3 separate regions of the Homo sapiens genome follow, and all the other regions are linked to region 1. Evidence: promoter capture Hi-C in 16 types of primary human blood cells and fetal thymus (Javierre and others, 2016). All regions are on one chromosome and are shown on one strand. The core of a region is centred on a gene start or on the middle of the fragment in contact, and the rest is flanking DNA. Distances in the headings are between cores, read along the strand shown. Region 1 holds the start of SLC26A5 (solute carrier family 26 member 5). Region 2 overlaps ORC5 (origin recognition complex subunit 5). Region 3 overlaps ORC5 (origin recognition complex subunit 5).

What was found. Contacts are between HindIII fragments. The CHiCAGO score rates a contact against its expected background, and 5 or more counts as called.
Region 2: a contact is called between a fragment that was not itself captured here and the fragment with the promoter of SLC26A5 in region 1, in 7 of 17 cell types (erythroblasts, megakaryocytes, non-activated CD4 T cells and 4 more). The highest score is 10.8, in erythroblasts.
Region 3: a fragment that was not itself captured here is called in contact with the fragment with the promoter of SLC26A5 in region 1 in 1 of 17 cell types (erythroblasts); the score reaches 6.0 in erythroblasts.

The regions. Positions count from the first base shown.
Region 1 is chr7:103,444,281-103,448,131 of GRCh38, forward strand. SLC26A5 (solute carrier family 26 member 5) reads right to left here and starts at 1,927. Exons shown (of 20, transcript NM_198999.3): 1 at 1,818-1,927. SLC26A5-AS1 (SLC26A5 antisense RNA 1) reads left to right here and starts at 927. Exons shown (of 4, transcript NR_110141.1): 1 at 927-2,239; 2 at 2,337-2,388. RefSeq lists an enhancer at 1,300-1,876 and a silencer at 1,933-2,002. The HindIII fragment of the contact is 4,246 bases long and covers 464-3,851 here.
Region 2 is chr7:104,168,525-104,172,442 of GRCh38, forward strand. ORC5 (origin recognition complex subunit 5) reads right to left here. Exons shown (of 14, transcript NM_002553.4): 9 at 1. Among named protein-coding and RNA genes, the nearest start is that of ORC5, 38 kb to the right of the region's middle. The HindIII fragment of the contact is 2,228 bases long and covers 1,386-3,613 here.
Region 3 is chr7:104,186,020-104,190,244 of GRCh38, forward strand. ORC5 (origin recognition complex subunit 5) reads right to left here. Exons shown (of 14, transcript NM_002553.4): 6 at 2,232-2,362. Among named protein-coding and RNA genes, the nearest start is that of ORC5, 20 kb to the right of the region's middle. The HindIII fragment of the contact is 539 bases long and covers 1,242-1,780 here.

The sequences.
Region 1 (3,851 bases), core at 677-3,176:
TATTAACTTAATGATAATGAGAACACCTGGGAATACGGACGTGCTTCCTATTTATCATGATTTCCCTAGAAAACTGTTTCACTTGGGTTACTAAAATGCAGACTACCTGCAACGGTAGAAAAATTAAGATACCAGGGGGCAACACATGATATTTAGAATGAGATGAAAACTCAACTGACTTTGATCGTCAATTAAATAGGCAGTGCACACCTGCATCTACACCTCACAAGGCAATCCATTGATTGTTAGAAACTTCCTCAGTCTTCCATTCTTCTGTTCTTAGCAAAGCGCCTCTATGCGAAAAGCACTCAAATACTTGTTGGATTGAGTCAATTCTTTTGGTTTCACTCATAAATTAATGAGGAACGTGTAACTCTGTATAGTTTCAGAGTAGTTAAAGAGAGAAAAAAAGAAATGCTACATAAGAGAATTGGGGCTTCAGGTGTTACCTAATAGACTAGAAAGCTTTCCAAGAGTGCACTTAAGATATGAGCTATAGCAACCTTACCTAGGCAATTCTTCACCCTAAGTTTCTTTCTAATGCAAATTAGTTTGAATTTCTCTCTCTTCCCTCCTGTCCTTTGCCTGAAAGTCTTCTGATACAAAGCAATACTACCGTAATTAGAAGGAATGCCTGACAAAAATACATTTTAAATTTCATTTTCAAAAAGGTTGATACTTCGTATTGCATACTCCGAATTCCCCTGCATTTCTATGCTGTAAATTCCTAAACTTTAGATAATACATTTATATCTAGTGCACATTGTTCAGTTTTCAGATAGGAAAAAGCTAAATCTCAGTCTGTGCCCGCAAAAAGTTGATATTTTTTGTTGTTTTAAGAGTCTCCATGAATGTTGTTTAAATTCTAGAATCCACAGTACTCATCGAAGCTAGGAAAAGAATTTTGCCCACCCCACAGCGTATCTGAGGCTTTCTTCACAGCTAGCTGATCGGATCCTTGCAGCTGTTTCTTCTGTAGGTCTCGGAGCTCACTGAGAACGTCCAGCACGCCTTCCCGGCGGGGCCCGGCCCAGGTGCGCACTAGATGAGGCAGTCAACCAAGTCAATTGGTTCCCGATCAACTAAATCTCTCCTAAAAATAAACACTGCCGCGAGCTTCGAGAGTTCAGCGTGTCAGAGCCTCTATGATGGCAGAGCACCTGCCGCGATGCCTGATTGGTAGGGAGAAGGATTTCCCGGGAGGGGGCCAATACCAAATTTTAGGGCTGTTAGGCTCTGAGCAGTCCCTTCGTGACCGGATAAGTCAGAGACCCGGGGTTTGAGCCTTGCCCGGCGCTGAGCGGAGGGCCCAGTTTCGGGACCACAGCCTTGCTCCCTGGGAGCTCCGGGCGGCCAATGCCGGGCAAGCCCAGCCCGGCACAGGAGGAGGCAGGGCCCGTCTCCGGAAAGAGGGCCAGAGGCAGAACTGAGGGCCTGGTTTTGTGTAATTCGATTTGGATACAAACAGGCCAGACCCAAACTGGAAACGGCGAAGGGCTGGATTAGCACCGAAGGGATTCGAGGAGGCAAACGGGAAGTAAAAATGCTGTGTGGAGCTGCAGAGGGCAAGGGGACAGGGGTTGCAAAGGAAAGAGCTTCGTGAGACTTTCTCCTTCCCGGCGTAGGGACCAGCAGAGTGCGGGCAGGTCAGCCCTGTCACCGGTTCGTTTAGGGAAAAAGCGCGACATGGGGCCTGGGAGACAGGGGCAGAGGCGGTGACAGCGAGGGCCCCTGCTCGGGTGGGCCCGCGGGCCTCAGCTCAGTCCCCTCCCGAGGGACCGCGACCCCCGGCCCCGCGGCCGCCCGCGCGCACTCACCAGCCCGGGCTGCCCTGGGCGGAGCCGCCCCGCCGCGCTCCACAGCCGCTGCCTCTTCGACGCGCGCGCTGCCTCCAGGTGCGGCTCTAGGAGGAGGCGCCGCGGGCAGTGCCGGCCGCGCCCCGCGACTCCCGGTAACCCGAGCCCGCCCCGCCCCGCTAGGGCCAGGCCCCGCCGCCACCCTCCGCGCTGGGACGCCGGGGCGCGGGCATCCCTGCCGCCTACGGATCTCTTCCCAAGCACCTAGAACTTTCCAAAGCGTGCTTGGAATTTAACACCTTGGTCGTCGATCCCCGCAAATATACTCTGATGAGACCGGCTTTCTTCCCATACCGCCCAGGAGTTTCTCCAGGTGGCATTCCTGTCGCCTTGAGGTGGAACATCAGTAGAGGCTCGAGGCTGAAGCAAGCACAATACACAAGGTATAGCGTTCAAGTGGAAAACATTGCGTATTATGATTTTAAAATGAAAAAAAAACACAAAAAACCTGACTTATCTTTTCAATTACAATCATTATAGAGACTCCGATTCGTACAGGAACATTTCGAAAACAGGAAATCCTGAGGACAATGTGAGTATGAGTTTTTTTTTTTTTTTAATTTTCAAAAATCTTTGATGAACTGCCTTTGGTTAACACTTGGTTTGCAAATATTGACTATTGCACGACAAGGCAATGCATGATAAGTTATTTTCTGGGCATTTAAGTTAGAATTTATAAAACAACTTTTGCTTTTTATTAAGTAGAATAATGTAACACGTTACCCCAAGCTGGGAGAATTGCTTGAGTCCAGGAGTTTGAGACCAGCCTGGGCAACAAAGCGAGACTCCGTCTCTTAAAAAAAAAAATTAGATAGGAAATAGCTTGTTTTGCATCTAGCAACTGGGATACAAGAGAGCACCGCAGCCAGAGTGCCGGGCTCCAAGAGGGTGAGGGGTAGAAAATGATTTCAGATACATACTTCCCTCTGGCTTTATGCCTTAGCAAGGATTATAGTTGGTTCATTAAGAGCATCTTTTTTTTTTTTTTTGCTTTGTGCATTTCTGCGCGTGCACACTGTAGTGACACGTGGCGGACTAGCTGTTTGGTCTTAAAGCTGTAAATGCACGCCTGCAGACACCAGAGGCTTCTGCCAAGGAGACCCCACCTCCAGAACCTGGGCCAGGCCTTTGGCTGGGAGCGCTGGTGCTGTTCTTCATCCGAGAGGAAAGGCTAGAGATTCCCTCCCTACTCCACACGAGGGCGATCTCTTCAAGGGCACCAGACCACTCTCCGCGTCCCTAGCTGAGGAAACCAAATTTGCTTTTCTCCACGCTTTTGAACATCTCTAAACAAATCTTAATAGGGTAATTTACTAAGGAGGAGTTGGGCTCCTGGGACGTGCATTTCTGGTGTCCTTCATTTGCCACTTGGCCTTTGCCATCCTATGAAATTATTTTGTCACATACCTGTCTGTAGCCCAGTACTTCTTACACTTTAATGTGCATAGGAATCACCTGCGGATCCCGTTAAAAACGCAGATTCTGATTCAGTAGGTCTGGGGTGGGGTCTGAGATGTGCCTTTCTAACAGGCCCCTGGGTGATCCTGATAGGCTACTGGAGGACCAAACTTTGAGTAGCAACACTGGAGACAGTTGGATGATAAACTGGTTTTGCCGGTAGCACCAGGTACCTAATATACTAACACAATAATGGCAATGTTGCTAACACCTGTTCAGTGTTTACATGTAGTAGGCACTGTTCTGAGTACATGTATTTACTTGTATAGATATTGCTATTATTTCTGGTTTAGAGATGAGTTTGCTTTTAATATGAGTCTTCCCCACCCCCTACCCCCTTCCCATCCTTGCTGGCTTAATTACATTTATTTGGTATTAGAATATTAGGGAGAGTATCAGGAAGAACAGCTAGTGGATGCTAGACCTTAATACCTAGGTGATGGGGTTGACCTGTGCAGCAAACCACCATGACACACGTTTACCTGTGTAATAAATCTGCACATCCTGGACATGTACTCCAGAACTTAAAAGCGGATA
Region 2 (3,918 bases), core at 1,250-3,749, 720 kb after region 1:
ACTGAAAAAAAATAGAAGAGCAAAAATGAATTAAAAATAAATAAAATCAATATGGTGTACTTAAAACAGAGCCCTAGAAAAACTAAATTTTTTTATTTATTAACAAAACAGAAAAGAAAAATATATACATGCAATAAACATGTTTGTACCTGTACAAAATAATTTAATGTATATATTAGAATGTCATAAATTTATAAAGCAATACCTAGATATTAACTATTTTAATAATCTCTTTTACTATGATGACTGTTGTAGCTATCAAAAAACTTCACCCAGGCCGGGTGTGGTGGCTCATGCCTGTAATCCCAGCACTTTGGGAGGCCAAGATAGGAGGATCACATGAGGCCAGGAGTTCAAGCTCAGCCTAGGCAACATGGGGAAACCCCATCTCTATTAAAAATACAAAAATTAGCTGGGTATGGTGGCGCATGCCTATACTCCCAGCTACTTGGGTGGCTGAGGCACGAGAATCACTTGAACCTGGGAGGTGGACGTTGCAGTGAGCTGAGATTGTGCCACTGCACTCCAGCCTGGGCGAGAGTGAGCCTGTCTTTAAAAAAAACAACAACAAACAAAAAACCAATAAATACTACCACCTACCACTCGGTAAAACTCCCAATGTTCTAGTTACCGTATTAGATGCAATTGTCATATACTATTTCTAAACTCTATAGCAATCCCTCAAAGTAGGTATCACACCAGAAAACTGAGGCTCAAAGATTAAGTCACCCAAGGACATTTAGCCAGTCAATACTAGAGCTACGAGTCGAATCCTTGTAGGATGCTTGCAGAGTTCAAGGTATTTTAATTGCCCCATCCTGGACTTATTTGCAATTAAAACTGTTAAACAACCAAAACACTATTAAGAATATGAAGTGATTATGACACGACAAATTGAATTTATAAGGCAACACACTATAGTATAATGAGTAAAGAATGCCCTACGACAGTTTTAGCTGCATGACTTCGAAAAAATGAATAGTTTACTCATAAAAAAAAATAAGGCAGTTTGATGCAAAGGTGCTCACCAACTCTAAAACTCTCACAGAACTCTTAAAAATGAGCTAATTTACAGGGCTAATTTAAAAATAATGCCAGATTAGAACAATTAAATATCCAAAATCTGCATGAAGAACAGGGTGGAAGTGATAAGGATGAGTGTGGGCCTTCTTTGAGTATACTTTAAAAAAAGTAGTTTTAGCTTTTGAAGTATTCTTTGATGCCCATCTCTCACCTGTATAGCAATCAACAAGTTTAATTTTCCCCTTTCTCTTTTCCTTCTTTTCCCAATTTTTAAGTTGTAATATTCCTACCTTGTCAGAATACATAATATTTACATACTATTCTTCTACTCTTATTTCCACCTTAATTTTAGTTTGGAGCTAAGCTTAATTAAATTCAATGTTCATCATCAATCCTTTTGTTAGTTTCTCCAGTCATCTCTTTTTCACATCAAGGTCGTCCTAAGAAATGTCTTATGAGTAGTGTTCTCTGAGTTCTTCCATGTTTAATATTGTTTTTCTCTAGCCTTGATAGTTCAATGACAGGTTTGACTGAACATAAAATTATTTGGCTTACACTTCCTTTCTCCTTGAGTTTCTTGAAATTGTTGATCCATTTGTTTCACTTTTTCACTGACTTTCCTTTGTAAGTGACTTTTATTTTTTGCCTGAAAGCTCAGAGGTTTTTTTCTGTTATTTTTAAAGTCTAAATGCTTTCCAAGAAGTCTCTGTAGTAGGCTGAATAATGGCTCTGCCTCCAAAGATACCAAAGTCCAAATCCCTAGAACATGTGAATACATTCTTATGGGGTAAAAGGGACTTAGCAGATGTGACTGAGTTAAGGATCTTCAGATAGACATTACACTGCATTATCCAGATAGGCCCAATAGAGTCAGAAGGATCCTTCTAAGAGGAAGACAAGTCAGAGAGAAGAGAAAATGCTACACTGCTAGCTTAGAAGATGGAGAATGGAACCACAAGCCAGGGAATGAAGGCAGCCTCTAGAAGTTAGAAAAGGCAAAGAAATAGATTCTCCTTGAGAACCTCCAGAAGAAAAGCCCTGTGGACCTGTTTTAGACTTCTGACATACAAAACTGTAAGACAGTAACTATGTGTTGTCCTAAATCACTAAATTTCTGATAATTTGTTACAGTACAATATACTAGTACAGTTTCAGAATTGATCATTCTGGATTAATTGGGAAAATGAACTGTTTTAATGTGTAAAGCTAGGTCTTCTATTTCTGGAACGTTTTCTTGGATTATAATTTTAGATCTTAACTCCAATCCATTGTTCTTTTCTGTCTTCAGGAGCTCCAATTAAATATATGTTAAATCTTCTTTGTCTATCATATTTGTCACATCCTACCTGATTATTTTTACCTCTTTTTTTAGTTTTGTTCTCTTGATTATTTTCAGTCCTTTCCTCAATGTCTCTTACTATATTCTCAGTTGAATCTACTTTCCTTTGGATATCTTATTTTTTCATTTTCATTTCTGAGATAACTACTATTGCCTGAACTTTGCTCCTGAGTTTGATCAACTTTTATTTCACATCCCCCTGTTCTTTGTCCATTTATTCTAAGTTATTGAATTTCAAACTTAAAGAATGCTTTCCATACCTGAAAATGCTTTTTAAACAAACCTAAACCAAGTAAAGGTGTGGTATTGCAGTCTTCCTCTGCTTTGTTTTGGGTGTTAAGGGGGAAATGTTCATCAACTAAACTGTTTTATTCACATTTTCTGTTTCTTCCTAAATAATACCTTTACATGGCTTTTCCATGTTGTCTTTTATTCATTTTGAAATACCTAATGTTTGGCTTGGTCAGTAATAACAGGTGACTTTATGAATGCAGGGGTAAGGTTGCGGAATGGCACAATTACTTAATTCTAAAGTGCTCCCTTCTGGAAAAATAATGAAGTCAAGTTTCTTTAATATATGGTGCTATTATGAAAAGGAGGGATTAGCTTCTGATTTTGTCATTTCTTTTTTATTTGGGGGATGAGAGGAATCTTTAATTTCTATCCTTTCTTTCCATTCTTTTCCTTCATTACCAACTCTCAAAGGAATACCACACCCTTCTGAATCAACTACTTGTCTCTCCTCAAAACAGTACTTTCCCAAGACTATCATGCTAACTCTGGCCCCCATACTCTTAAAACAAAAAAAATACAAAAAATTAGACAGGTGTGGTGGCGCATGCCTATAGTCCCAGCTACTCGGGAGGCTCAGGTGGTAGGATCACCTGGACCTAGGGAGGTTGAGGCTGCTATGAGCTGTGATCTTGCCACTGCACTCCAGCCTGGACGAGACAATGGGACCCTGTCTCAAAAAAACAAAAAAACAAAAAACAAAATGTCACTTTGATTCTCCAGTAGCCAGTGCTCTAATCCTTCCAGCCTCAGAACTGTTCAATACTTTCTCACTCAGGGTTGAACTCTCTTTCTTCAAGTAATTTCATTTGTATTTCACCACTACTAGTCAACGTATCCCTTGTCCCAACAATCTTCTCTTTTCCTTTCAGTCTTTGTTTGACTTTTCACCTCAGCATGAGCTCCAGAGCTGGCCCTGTTGGTTTCAGTTGTTTACTTCACTACTGGTATATAAAATGAAGCTTGTAGCAATCTCTAACTCCTGTTAATACAGCAGGCAAGAGTTATGGGTGGTTCTATTAGCTCTCTTTATTGATATTGTGGACACAATTGAATTTAGGTGGCCATAATTATCCTATGGGACTAGAAGTCCTTTCATTATTATGTAAGAATCATTTTAACAAGCAAACAAGTTTTCCTACATTTAGAAGATCACAAGCTTTTCCATTCTATGATTTCTAAAAACTCTCATTAAATGAATTTTTGTTACTGAAAAAGGAAAAGGAGTAATAGTATCTTTGTAGTATTTCTGCTAATTAAGAAAC
Region 3 (4,225 bases), core at 261-2,760, 740 kb after region 1:
TCAAAAAGAAATTATTCGCTTTAGCCAAACTTTCTTACCTTAATTTTAGATTTTCAGATCTAAGCATGGTGTAATAACACTAAAGTGTCATAATGTTAACAGCAACTGGTACACAATTTGGCTAATCAAAATAAACAACTGACCCTTGAACGACATAGGTTTGAACTGTGAGGGTCCACTTGTCTACAGATTTTTTTTTTTTTCCAACCAAACACAGATCACAAACACAGATCAAAAACAGTACTCAGGGAATACAAAACCCATGTATATGGAGGGCTAACTTTTTTACACTCAGGTTCTGCGGAGTTGATCGCAGGGTTTGAGTGTGCTAGGATTTTGATATATATGGGACTGGTCCTGGAACCAATCCCCCAAGTATACCAAGGGGCAACTGTATTGATTTTCTCTTTGGTTGAAACACTAAAATATGTTTAATAATTTATGAATAACAGTTAAAAAGGCAGTATCATAAGGTTTGTTAGAGAAAACAAACCTAAATGAATATCAAAGTAGTACTTCATTTTCTCCTATCTTAAGCTACCTATAGAACTAGCCTCTGAAAAATACAGAAATATCAATTCATAAAGCATCTTTCCAGAAAAGATCCCTGAAAAGAATATTTTTCAGGTGATTTAATAAACTTTCAAGAAATATGCCACTTACAAACTTTGAAACAAACACAAACAACACTATCTGAAGAAAAAAAAGAAAATGAATATCTTTATTCTTCCATGTTCTATATATAGAGAAAACTAAGAACATTGTGCTATTTTTCTCTAATGTTTAAGGATCCTTTTCTCTATTATTACCAATAGTAGTATAAGACTTAAACCATACTACACATTTATGAATATTATTTTTTAAAAAGCTGTAACCTCACCCTAAATAAAATCATTCCACAGTGAAACTCGAAGAACTTTAAAAAATACCACATTTAAATATATATTTCTCTCTTTACATTTTATTTTCCCATAAATATTTTCCCTAAATTTTTCCTTCTTGTACTTTATAATCTACTTTGAAATGGCTGTCAGCACAGATTCCCACAGGATTCGAGTGCTAAAGAGTGGTAACTGCAAGTTACTTTCCAGGAAAGACCGAGGAGGATTATCTGCTCCTAAGTCCATCTCACTCAGGTGCGTTTTCCTGACCCTCTCCTCTCTGTAAGTCTCTTGTGTTATCATTTCCCTCAGAAGCCAGGGATCCCAAGACATCCAACTTCTAGAGGAATGTTAGTGATAAGCTTGAACTGGAAAAACTGTTTTGTTTTTTCCCAGCTGAGAAGATGTCTGAAATCTACATGTAAATCAGAGGAGCCCTGAAATCTGAAACTTTCAAAAACATACTAAATGTGAGCATAATTTTAAATGATTGCCTTCTGTGTTCTGTCGCAAACACACACTGAAACTAAGTAATACTTTTCAGGGCAAAAACAGAAAAAGAACAAAGTGAAGAAAATGTGCTAAGAGACATAGAATCTGTTACTTTGAAAGTGACTGTTTTCCAGCCTCAGATATATTACTATTTTCTGTTAAATGGAGATAAGATCTTAATTAATTGAAGATTTCTAAAAGGGAAAACAGAAATTCTTGTCTCTTTCCTTTCCCATCCCTACAATTAAAACAAAAAAGGTCAAAGAAAAATTAAACATCAACATTTTCCAAACTGTCTATGAAATATAAACAGCTATTCTAATTGTTAAAAAAAAAAAATTAAAAAGAACCATCTATACAAAGATTACCAGCTCAGGGTCAGTGGTTAATGAAAGACCTGCAATGAAAGCTTCTGACCATACTCAAATCCATCTAGATTCTAGACCTCAATCACCGCATACATAAAACTTGAACAAAATCTGTTACAAAATATTAACAGAGTTGTAAAACTGCTCAAGTTTTTACATCTCTTTTCTGTTATTCCTCATTTTGATTTTTATGGAGTTCTGCATTTTCTGCAATTAGAGAAAAAACAAGGAAGAGTAAGAAGATCTGAGAATGACATTTTTCTGATCAGATCAAACAATCAAAGTTTGTACTAACCCACAGACATCTACCTTCTTATGGTATGTTAGTCTCTAGAGGCCATATGCAAATTCCCAGAATAAAATTTCAGTTTCTAACCTATCTCATACCATTTCTACATGGAAAACATTAAAATACATATATACACATATATGTATACACACACACACACACACACACATATATATATATTCAAGCAAAATGTTCATTTACCAGATGTCTGAGCTCTTTCAAATCTCGACAAACAGTGTAGAAAACTCCAAGAAGAATGTTAATGTAGGCAGCATAGAAATCAGCTGAATACTCTGGAGGATGATCATGGGACAGGATCTTTTGAAGGTTGCCTGTTCACAGGACACAAAATAACTTATAATGATTAACATAGTACACTAATCATATCTTCAAGCATTTTATAACAAAGGTATTAAAAAAAAAACACCCAGACCCAGCAACAATTAAGGAATAATAAAACTATTACAAGATTAGAATACAAAAGTGTGATTTGTGATATAATAAAAAATATATATTTGATCTTCACTGCAGTTCCTGGCACAGAGCTTCTAAAAACCCTCATAATTCCCTGAATGAGAAGGATAAGAGGAGTATCTTTTGTTACTCATAATAAGTCCTTTTAAAACATACCTCAATTTATACTAATGAGGTGTTTCTTGATGGGTGATATGGTTTGGCTCTGTGTCCCCACCCATATCTCATTTGAAATTTTCAGTGGAGGAGGGGCCTCGTGGGAGGTGATTGAATCATGAGGCAGACTTCCCCCTAGCTGTTCTTGTGATAGAGTTCTCATGAGATCTGGTTGTTTCAAAGTGTGCAGCACTTCCCCCTTCATGCTCTCTCTCCTGCTGGCCATGTGAAGATGTGTTTGCTTCCCCTTCACCTTCCACCATGATTCCAAGTTTCCTGAGGCCTCCCCAGAAGCAGAAGCCTGTACAGCCCACAGACTGTGAGTCTATTAAACCTTTTCTTTATAAATTTATAAATTACCCAGTCTCAGGTATGTTTATAGCAGTGTGAGAATGGACTAATACAGCGGGCCCCTAGATAGCTTCAGGATGGGGACTGGTTGTCAGAGGAACCAACCAAGTGATTAGAGCCCTGTATTGTCACATACACTGCTATGAAGAAATACCCATGACTGGGTAATTTACAAAGAAAAGAGGTTTAATTGACTCACAGTTCTGCATGGCTGGGGAGGCCTCAGGAAACTTACAATCATGGTGGAAAGCACTCAACAGGGCAGTAGGAGAGAGAATGAGTGCCAGCAGGGAAAATGCCGGATACTTATAAAACCAACAGCTTTCGTGAGAACTCAGTATCTTGAGAACAGCATGGGGGAATCGCACCCATGATTCAATTACCTTCCAACAGGTCCCTCCATGACATGTGGGGATTACGGGATTATAATTCAAGATGAGATCTCAGTGGGGACACAAAGCCAAACCATATCAAGGCCCCACCTCCTGTCCTTGGGAAAAGGAGAAGGGCTAAAGACTGAATCCATGACCAATGACCAATGATTTAATCAAATCATGACTATATAATGGCACCTCCATAAAAAAATCCTAAATGATGAGGTTCTGAGAGTTTCCAGGATAGTAAATATATCCACATGCTGAGAGGGTAGCACACTCCAGCCCCACAGGGACAGAAGCTCCTGAGCTTGGGACCCCACTGGTCCTTGTCCTGTGTACCTGTTCATCTGGCTGTTCATTTGTATCCTTTATGATAAATGGAGTAAGTACAGTGTTTCCTTGAGTTCTGTGAGCTATTCTAGCAAATTATCAAACCTGAGGAGGGGCTCATGTGAAACCCCAATTTATAGCCAGTTTTCTGGAGTACAGGTAGAAACCTGGGACTTAGAATGGTGTCTGAAATGCTAATATTCTTGTAGGACTAAGCCCTTAACTTGTGAGGTCTGCACTAACTTCTGGTAGTTAGTGTCAGAAGTGAATTGAATTTTAGGACACCCATTTGATATCTAGAAAACTGAAGAATTTGTTGTTGGGTGAACAAAAATACCCCACACATTTGGTGTCAGAAGTGTTTTGAGTAAAAATACTTCTGAAAAAGTAAATCACAATTTTGAAACTGAGGGTAAAAAAAAAATTATTAAATACTAAGACAAATAGAAAACAATGACATCTAAAGAAAATCTCAACAACCTTATTACCGGCAAAATCAGTAACAAG